Regions from separate parts of the Homo sapiens genome. Here all the other regions are linked to region 1. Evidence: promoter capture Hi-C in human tissues and cell types (Jung and others, 2019). All regions are on one chromosome and are shown on one strand. Each heading gives the region's core, a stretch centred on a gene start or on the middle of the fragment in contact. The rest is flanking DNA. Distances are from core to core; before and after follow the strand shown. Region 1 holds the start of HOXC5 (homeobox C5). Region 2 overlaps FLJ12825 (a long non-coding RNA gene). Region 3 overlaps FLJ12825 (a long non-coding RNA gene).

Region 1 (3,200 bases), core at 414-2,913:
CCGAGCTGAGGGGAGATGGGGCAGCGCCGACAGCCCCGCGGGAACCCTGGGTCGGTAGGGATGCGGAATGCCAAGGAAAAGCGCTTTTGTCTGTGGGGCCCGGGAGCCCAGTGCTCCAGCACCTGCCCCCGACCCGAAATATAGAGAGGAAAGGCGAAAAGGAAAGGCGCAGGGACAGGAACCGGCTAGGGGCGCGCTCTGCGGGCCTCCCCCGCTGCCTCTAAAGAGCCTCTTTGCTTTTCATTTTGGAATCTTTCTTCCACTTCATCCTGCGGTTCTGGAACCAGATCTTGATCTGTCTCTCATTGAGACACAAGTTGTTGGCGATCTCTATGCGCCTGCGGCGAGTGAGGTAGCGGTTAAAGTGGAATTCTTTCTCGAGTTCCAGAGTCTGGTAGCGCGTGTAACTGGTTCGGGACCGCTTGCCGTCCGTCTCTGGAACATAAACCCCACCCCAAGCCAGGAAGGGGTGAATAGCTTGCAGCGTTCCCCCGTCCCCACCCCAGCCCAGGCCCCCACCCGCGGCCGGAGGGAGAGGAGGCGAGAGCCGCAAGACAGGCCACGCGGGCCGCAGGCGGGCCAGCCCAGCCCAGCCCCGGGAGAGGCGCCTCCGCCCAGGCAGGAAACTTTCCACCGCAGCCTTCACTCTGCAGCCGGAGGGGCTGAGGGGGGGTTGGGGGGAAGAGGGAGACCCAGGCTCGGACCGAACAATAAGCACCCTCGAGATCCGAGCACCGGGGACCCCCCTCCCGCCCCTCCCGAGTCGCTGGAATCCTCCGGAGCCGCAAGCGCCGGCGGAGCCGGCTCCGCAGGGGAGGGAGGGAGGGAGCCGCGGGGGGATCCCCGCTCTGGAGCCCCGCGCTCCTCACCCTTCAGATCCCTCTATTTTTTTAACTCCCTCCCTCTCCCCCAAAAATTGAATATTGCCTTTTATACACGTTTTGTTCCTATGATCCAATTATGTCGTCGTAAATTTGGGCGCACACAGCCTCTAAGCCTTTTAGTGGACAGTTTTACGAGCCATTGATGCCTGGATCGTAAAATTTATGGCCGCAGGTTTTTTTTCTTTATTTGCCCCGCATGGCCTATAAAACCCAGGCGGACCCGAGAGCGCAAAATGAAGTCCTAAAGTTTACCGTGGCTCATGTGCAGTTTGGTCATCCACGGGTAAATCTGTGGCGGGGCCGGTGGCTGGCTCAGTCCGGCGGGCTGCCCTGTCTGCGCCTGCTCCTCTTTGATCTCCCCACTGCTCTTAGCTCGCTCCTCCAGCGCCGGGCGAGCCGCCTTCTGACTGTACATCCCGGGGTTCAGAGGAGCCGCTTCGTCTCTGCCCGGAGCGTGTCCCGGAGCGGCCGCGGCGCTGCAGGCGGGGCGGTCGGGGTGAGCCCGGGGGTTGGCAGCCATGTCTACCCCGTGGAGAGAGTTGGAAGGCGCAGGCGGTGGGAAAGTGATGCTTAAGTCCAATCCGCCGTAGCAGTACCTGGATGCCTGCACCTCTGAGGCCGATCCATAGTTCCCACAAGTTTGCATGTTATAGGCAGGGATATTGGGGCTCTGCTTATAGAATGAATTGGCTACGTAGGAGCTCATGGCGGGGAGGGCCCAAAAAAATTTCTGCACCCTTTTTGATTAAGGGTGATTTGTGACTCTTTGAAGTTGAGGGGTTTTTTGTTCTCCAAAGTGGACAATTTATAGGTGGAGATATCTCTTTCTTTATCCTATGCGCTCTTCCCAAATAAGGGAGCCTTAAATAGAGTCACGTGACTCGAGCGGCCACTCATAAATTTGGCTTGATGACCTCCGGGAGGTTAGTGATGGAAGCCGGCGAAAAGCATCTCGATATGTTGGCAAAGCCCAACCAAGGGGGAGAGGGAGTGAGAGAGAGAAAGAGGGAAGGGGGAGGGAAAAAAAAAAAAAGGTTCTTGGAATTGGGGGTAGCCGGGACAACAAGCCCACAGCGACACCTGGTGCCTATGTGGGGGAATTGCATCCTGGAGCGCCAGCTTGCTTTCCGGTGGCTGGATTTCCTACACTGTGAAGGAGAAGCTGGTTGTTGGGGCAACCCCTGAGCTAGCCTTTTAAATTCTATTTAAAATTGGGAAAAGACGAGGCCCCACTTATAACGCACAGAGTGCTTTTTGTAATGAAAGTCCCGTTCTCCCAACCTCCAGGGTCTTCCAATCTTCAAAAATGGCTGAGGAAAGGGGATTAAGTTAGGTAAGGTGGCCTATGCCCAGGCTGGAGAACCAATGGGGTTTAACTTAGGTTCCCTAAACCAAAGGTAGAAGTCCCTTGCCTCTCAGGCCCTAAGGCTCCACTACTGCTGAAGAGGTGCCTATCAGCAAGAGAAAGTAGAATTAGCTTCTGAAGAGGTAGACAGGACGCCCAGGAGGAGGGATCCTGAGTGGTCAGAACAAGATAGGGGGGTCATGAAGCTGAGGGTGTTGCAGGCTGTTTGGGATGGATCTGGAGGTGAGGAGCCAGGTGGAGTTGGCTAGACCTCACCATGCTAGGGTCCCCAGAGTGGCAACAAGGCAATTTTCAAGTGTGTGTGTGGACACGGACAGAGCCAGACAATGGTCTAGAGGACTGCTCTGTTTCCCTGTGTGCGATCCTTATGTGGTACCTATGCCAGAGGTTTTAGACAGAAAATAGATGTTAATTGAGGACATGGAGAAGCAAGATTGAAGCCTCCACAAATATTACGTGAGCATGGCAGAGGAAAAGGCCCGTTATGTGCCCTTTGGGGAAAAGGTCTCTGGGCTAGGCTTTCCAGGGACCTGAATCCATAAGGTTCACAAGAGAGCAATTTCTGAGCTACCAAGAGGAATGGGGCGGACCTGGGGGGTGGGCAGGGCAGGCGCCTGGGTAGCCTTCGCAGGGTATCTGCAGCCATTCGGCCCCATCCTCTTCCCCCGTAGCCCCAAGTCTCATACTTCCCTGCCTGCTTCTTCCCAGGAAATCTCCGCCCCGCCAGGAGAAGGCCCCCTCCTCACTGGTGGAGGCACTGGAGGCGAGGGTGGGGGCGCTGGAGGGAATCTGAAGGGCCCGGAAAACTCTGGCGGATTTTTTCCCTCCGGAGACCCTCCTCAACACCTCTCCCTGTAGGCCCACTCAGGTTTCTCTGGCCAGGCTTGGAGAGAGAAGGCCAGGGTTGATAAATGGTTAGGGTCCGGCTGCGCTCCTCACCCGCCTCTTCA
Region 2 (3,009 bases), core at 21-2,520, 39 kb before region 1:
ACTCAGGAGACTGAGGCAGGAGAATGGTGTGAACCCAGGAGGCAGAGCTTGCAGTGAGCCGAGATTGTGCCACTGCACTCCAGCCTGGGCAACAGAGCAAGACTCCGTCTCAAAAAAAAAAAAAAAAAAAAGAAAGAAAGAAAAAAGAAAAAGATTATGCATGAATTTATCAGGGTCTGGACCTCTGATTTGCTCTGACTATGGTGACCATTCATTCCATGGCTTAGTGCCAATTCATGAATAGTGTCCTGAAGCTCCCTCAGTACTCATAACTATAATAGTTTCCATTTCTAGAAGATTACTATATGCCAGTTGCTTTATACTGAATTTGATGAGGAAATCTATTCTCAGAAAGGTTAAGTCACCCACCCAAGGTCACATCACTAGATCTGAACCCTGGCTGTGTGTTTCCCTATCTGCTAGGTTTTAATACTTTCAAACCATGCCTTATGGGTTAGATATACAGTAGATAATCATAGAAATGGAAGGGATTTTTCCCCCTCTGGAATAGTTTTATATCCTCTGGACATACAGGGGGCCCCATGAAGTACTTCTACACTGGTTTCTATAGTGGCTGACCCAAATGCACGTATATTATCAGAATTTCCATCCCCCTGATTTAAGTTTTACTGGCAGCCTCTGTGATTTTTTGGTGTGATAACTACCCTCACCACTTAGAGTCCACCCATTTCCCAGGACTAGAAATATACTCATAATTGCAGGCATCTGGTTTCTAGGGGAGTCCCTGAGTTCCCACTTCCTCAGGCAGAATCTAGCTTTCCCACAAGGATCAGGCAATGTGAAACTGAGAAGTATCTAGAGATTAATCTTCAGGGCCCCTCATCTCCCTAAGCATACCCCCTAAGCACTACTTTTCTGATTCTATCCTTGTTTGATGAAGTATCCCAGTGGTGCTTTTGTATTTTAAAGGATGTGATCTGCAGAGGACTGTACTTAACACCATGTGCTTTAATGGTGGAACTTAAGGCTTTTTTGTGGCAGGATAATTGGGGAGGGGGAAACAGATCCTTCCCAGGGGCTTTAAACTGAATCACTGCAAAAGGCTGATCCTGCATCTCATTATCCATTACATCAGATGAAAGCTACAAAATTGGATCCCTTTATTCTATTTGAAACTAAGCAGATAGTGGGCTGATTTCTCTGTTTTCACCTGGCTATTGGCATCATGCAGACACCCTTTCCAACTTCCTGCCCCATCTTGTTTCTGCCTCTCTTCCCTCAGGGGCAGGGTCCTTAAGGGAAACAGCTCCCCATAGTGTGTCTGCAGGGGCTCTGTGGAAAAGGTTGAGTTGTCAAATAAGGAGACACCACAGCTAACACCCCCTACTCCCCCACCCCCCACCAACTCTGGAATGAAGATGGAGAGTTTTCTGTGCCTGGTTTGGTTCACAGAGACACATAGTCCATCATCTGATTTGCTACAAAGAGTATTCCTTCTCCCTGCCCCCCAGCATCCTTCAGTTTTTGCTTAGAGTCTCAGAGCTGGAAGGATCTTAGTGATAACCTAATCAAACCACTTCATTGTGAAGGAAGAGAAACTGAGGCTCAGACAGAGATCAGAACCCAGGTGTTCTGATCCCTGAACCAGTACTAGTCCCAGCACCATGCTGACTCTGGCTCTGTGTGTTTCAGCTGGATATTTTTGGAGTTGCTCCCTCCAAACCCCAGAATCCAAGCTTGCTCTCCATGGCAGGGAGAGTCACCAACCATCATAATAAGATGGACCCTTCTTCCTGGTTGTGGCCACTTTTTGGCACAAGCCTCATCATACACCATGCCCCATAATCCCACTGGAGCCATCTGTGATCTCTGCGATATTAGAGGGCTTCTCCCCTCTCCCTGCTTCTGTACCACATTACATATCAACTCACCTTAATCCATTTTCTAGAGCTGGCCAGGGCCCAGATAAGGGGCTGAAGGTCTTAGGACAGACAACAACGGGGTAAGGGAAGTTTTTGCCTCTAAATTCCCCACCTCCAGCCTCAGATGAGGAGAGAAAGAGGCTCTCTTGAATAAAAAAATTTCCTTAAGATCTTGTCAAGGCTTCTTCAAGCTTCAAGGGAGAAAACCTCTCTTATTGGATGAGTTTTATCTTACTGTCCAACGCTGAGGACTGGAGGCAAGGGATAGGGGTTTGAGCTTGGCCTGAAGAATCTGAATACACATAAGAAAGAATATATCAGTGATGAGAGCTCTCAGACAGTTGTGTTCTCTGAACATACCAGGTAAGTTCTCCTCCATCTGAGATGGCTAAGTTAACCTCACTGAGTTCTTTCCAGTTCCAAGATTCTGGTTAGAAACTTCCATTTCCCAGTGTTTGGTGGTCAGCCTAATCCCGGATTCCCCAGCCCATGCTCACTCAGTTTCCCAATGGGCCTTGGCTCCAGGAAACAGTTTTCAATTTCACGTTGGCTCTAAACAGCTTCCCCATCCCTAAGAAACATAACAAAATTGAGCCAACTTAAGAATAGGATCCACCAGATGACTTAGTCTGACATGGGCACAATGGCAGCGGACTAGGAATCCAGAGTCATGGTGTCAGTTAAGGGCTGAATTGTGTCTCCGCAAGTTCCATTTCTTGAAGTCCTAACCCTCAGTAACTCAGAATGTGACTGTATTTGGAGATAGGCCCTTTAAAGAGGTAATTAAGTTAAGGCAAGATTATATGGGTAGGCTCTAATTAAATATAACTACTGTCCTTATAAGAAGAGATCAGCAGGCCAGGTGCGATGGCTCATGCCTGTAATCCCAGCACTTTGGGAGGCCGAGGTGGGCGGATCACCTGAGGTCAGGAGTTCGAGACCAGCCTGACCAACATGGTGAAACCGTGTCTCTACTAAAAATACAAAAATTAGCCAGGCATGGTGGCTTGCGCCTGTAATCTCAGCTACTTGGGAGGCTGAGGCAGGAGAATCTCTTGAACCTGGGAGGTGGAGGTTGCAGTGAGCTGAGATCGTGCCATTGCACTCCAGCCAGGGCAACAAGAGT
Region 3 (2,908 bases), core at 295-2,794, 55 kb before region 1:
CAGGTTGAGGTGGTATGCGGGAAGATCTCCCTTTGGAAAATGTTTCTGGATAATTTCCCAACTCCTTGACCATGTTCTCCCCACCTCACCCACATTCAGATAACACAGGTTCTAAGGCTCCTTCACTCCTCCACCCCCGGGGGATACTCCTTGGGCCTGGCCCTGTGGAGGGGCTTGGAGGTGGGATCCAGAACCAATTGCAATTCTGAACGCACACCCAGCCGCCTCCTCACTCCCTTTTAACCTTTCCCTCTTGTCAGAAGCCAAATTGAGTTAGTCTTGAGTTTTGATTTAATTCCCGAAATGGAGTCATAATCTGCTTAGTGTCCTTTTTCCCGAGTCCTAGATACTGAAGTGTGTGTGTCTGTCAGGGGGAGTTAAAAGAGCAGCTCTGTGACCTTTGGAGGACCCTCACACTCACTCACCTCCCAAACACCACCAAACAGCAGGAGACACCATGGCCCTGAGTTGCTGGGTAGTATGATGATGGTACTGACAACTCACATTTACTGGGCACTTACCACATGCCAGTACTGAGACATGCACTATACACGCATTTCTCACTTAATTCTCACAACTACCTTTCAGGTAGGTACCATTCATATCCCCAATTTACAGATGAAGAAACTGAGGCTTAGCGAGGTTAAGCAATTTATGTTCCATCCTGCAGTGATTACAGACGGTCCTCGACTTATGATGCTTTGACTTACAATTTCTCAGCTTTATGATGATGCCGAAGTGATATGCATTCATTAGATACTGTACTTCTAATACTCATACAGCCGCTCTGTTTTTCACTTTCAGCACAGTATATTATAACATGTTGAATCTCATGTTGAATACATGAGATGAATACATATCTCATGTTGAATACATGAGATGAATACATATCTCATGTTGAATACATGAGATATTCAACACTTGATTATAAAATAGGCTTTGTGCTAGATGATCTTGCCCAACTGTAGGCTGATGAAAGTGTCCTGAGCACTTTAAGGTAAGCGAGGCTGAGCTATGATGTTTGGTGGGTTAGGTGTATGAAATGCATATCCACCTTACAATATTTTCAGCTTACTACAGCTTTATCGGGACACAGCCTCATTGTAAGTCAAGGAGAGTCTATTATTAAGTGGCAGAGCCCAAATTTGAAACTATACAGTCAGACTGCAGAGCCTGTGCTCTTAACCACTTAGTTGTGTGACACCTGGCAAGGTATTTAACTTCTACACGCCCTGTTCCCTCATTTGCAAAACACAGGTAAGTAGGGATGATAAGATATTCCCTTCAAAGAATTATGTTGATTAATTGAGCTAAGGCATTCACCGTACTCACAGTAAGCATCCAATAGTTTAGGTGCCCTACACATTGGAGCAGGGTTGAGGAAGGGAAAGGGTACAATCCAATGGGCTATTAATTATTCATTGTTACTGTTGATAATAATAGTTATCAAGCATTGAGAGCCAACTGAGCATAGGCCACCCTACAAGGTAAAAATTATGTCTGTTTTACAGATGAAGAAACTGAGTTTCACATAAATTAGGTAAATTACCTAAAGCCATCCAGTTAATAAGTGACAGAACAGAGCTCTTGTTTAAACACTGGGCCCTTGACTCCAAAGCCTGCAGTTCCCAGCACCCCCAGGGTCATCAAAAACTGGCCTCTCCTGGGGGAGGTCAGGGCTCAGGCCAACAAGCCCAAGTCACACCCTTTACCACCTGGGACCTGATTTTCTCCAGGTGAGCAATGTTTTCTTAAAAGAACAGGAGGACAGTAAATAATTAACTAAGACAGTTTCTCCCTCCCTGAAGCCAAGGTAGAACCTCCCCCCTACAGCCAACCCCCACTCTCCTCACTCCTGTTTCCTCTGTGCTCAAGTTTGTGGCCATTAAATAGAAGAGGAGAAAGTTTGAACCAGGCATGAAATATTTATCAGTTAATTACAATATGCAGATTCTGTTCCTAGGGGTGATTTATCTTTTTGGAAATATAGGAAAAGATCCTGGAAACTTGTATCCTAATTGCTTGGCCTATTATTGTAGCAACCAGGTAGAAACTCCATTTACTATGTAACTACAAATTTTCCCACTACTGGAGGTATCTGCCTCTGCTTCTATCACTGGTGGTCTGGGGACCATATGCTTTTCTGATAAGAGATGAGCCTCTTAGAGGTCAATCTGTCGATTCCTCTGTCTCCTCTTGGGGTGGCCCCTTTGTAAATTCTAATAGTTATAGGAAATGAAAAGGGTGAGAGTCTGAAATTCTGGGATCTCAAGAGAAGCTAATTCTAAGTGAAAACTTCCCCAACTGAAGCAGTGCCACTGGTAGGGGATGTCCAAGGTTGAGAAGCAGCTCTCAGCTGAGCATCCCTCCCCTCCCTTGCTCTGGCAGAAGTGTCAGCCCTCCCCTTATCTCTTGTATCATTTCCTAGGGCCTGCATCTCAACCTCTGGCTACACATTAGCAACCTGGGGAGTTTTAAAAATCCAGATGCCCAGGCCCTACTACAGGCCAACCAAATTGGAATCTCTGGAGGTGGGACCCAGGCATCAGTATTTTAAAAAACTTGTGGCGGGGCATGGTGGCTCACACCTGTAATCCCAGCATGTTGGGAGGCCGAGGCGGGTGGATTACCTGAGGTGAGGAGTTCGAGACCAGCCTGGCAAACATGGTGAAACCCCGTCTGTATTAAAAATACAAAAATTAGCCAGGCATGGTGGCAAGCACCTGTAATCCCAGCTACTCGCGAGGCTGAGGCAGGGATAATTGCTTGAACCCAGGAGGCAGAGGTTGTATGTAGTGAGCCGAGATGTGCCACCGCACTCTAGCCTGGGCGACAAGAGCAAGACACCATCTCAAAAACAAAAACGAACAAACAGAAAAACTCGCTGGGGATTCCAGTGTGCAGCGAA

Evidence for each region. Contacts are between HindIII fragments. The study calls those that stand out against the background at their distance.
Region 2: a contact is called between a fragment that was not itself captured here and the fragment with the promoter of HOXC5 in region 1, in 3 of the 25 tissues and cell types used here (neural progenitor cells, psoas muscle and small bowel).
Region 3: a contact is called between a fragment that was not itself captured here and the fragment with the promoter of HOXC5 in region 1, in 1 of the 25 tissues and cell types used here (neural progenitor cells).

What each region holds. Positions count from the first base shown.
Region 1 is chr12:54,031,513-54,034,712 of GRCh38, reverse strand. HOXC5 (homeobox C5) reads right to left here and starts at 1,663. Exons shown (of 2, transcript NM_018953.4): 1 at 1,137-1,663; 2 at 1-435. The coding sequence starts at 1,590. The coding sequence ends at 221. MIR615 (microRNA 615) reads right to left here and starts at 763; the gene lies at 668-763. It also overlaps a transcript of HOXC4 not described here. RefSeq lists a silencer at 565-624 and enhancers at 708-1,859, 1,854-2,148. The HindIII fragment of the contact is 19,535 bases long and covers 1-3,200 here.
Region 2 is chr12:54,069,823-54,072,831 of GRCh38, reverse strand. All of the region lies in intron 1 of FLJ12825 (a long non-coding RNA gene), which reads right to left. Among named protein-coding and RNA genes, the nearest start is that of FLJ12825, 13 kb to the right of the region's middle. The HindIII fragment of the contact is 5,968 bases long and covers 1-3,009 here.
Region 3 is chr12:54,086,965-54,089,872 of GRCh38, reverse strand. All of the region lies in intron 1 of FLJ12825 (a long non-coding RNA gene), which reads right to left. Among named protein-coding and RNA genes, the nearest start is that of FLJ12825, 30 kb to the right of the region's middle. The HindIII fragment of the contact is 9,088 bases long and covers 1-2,908 here.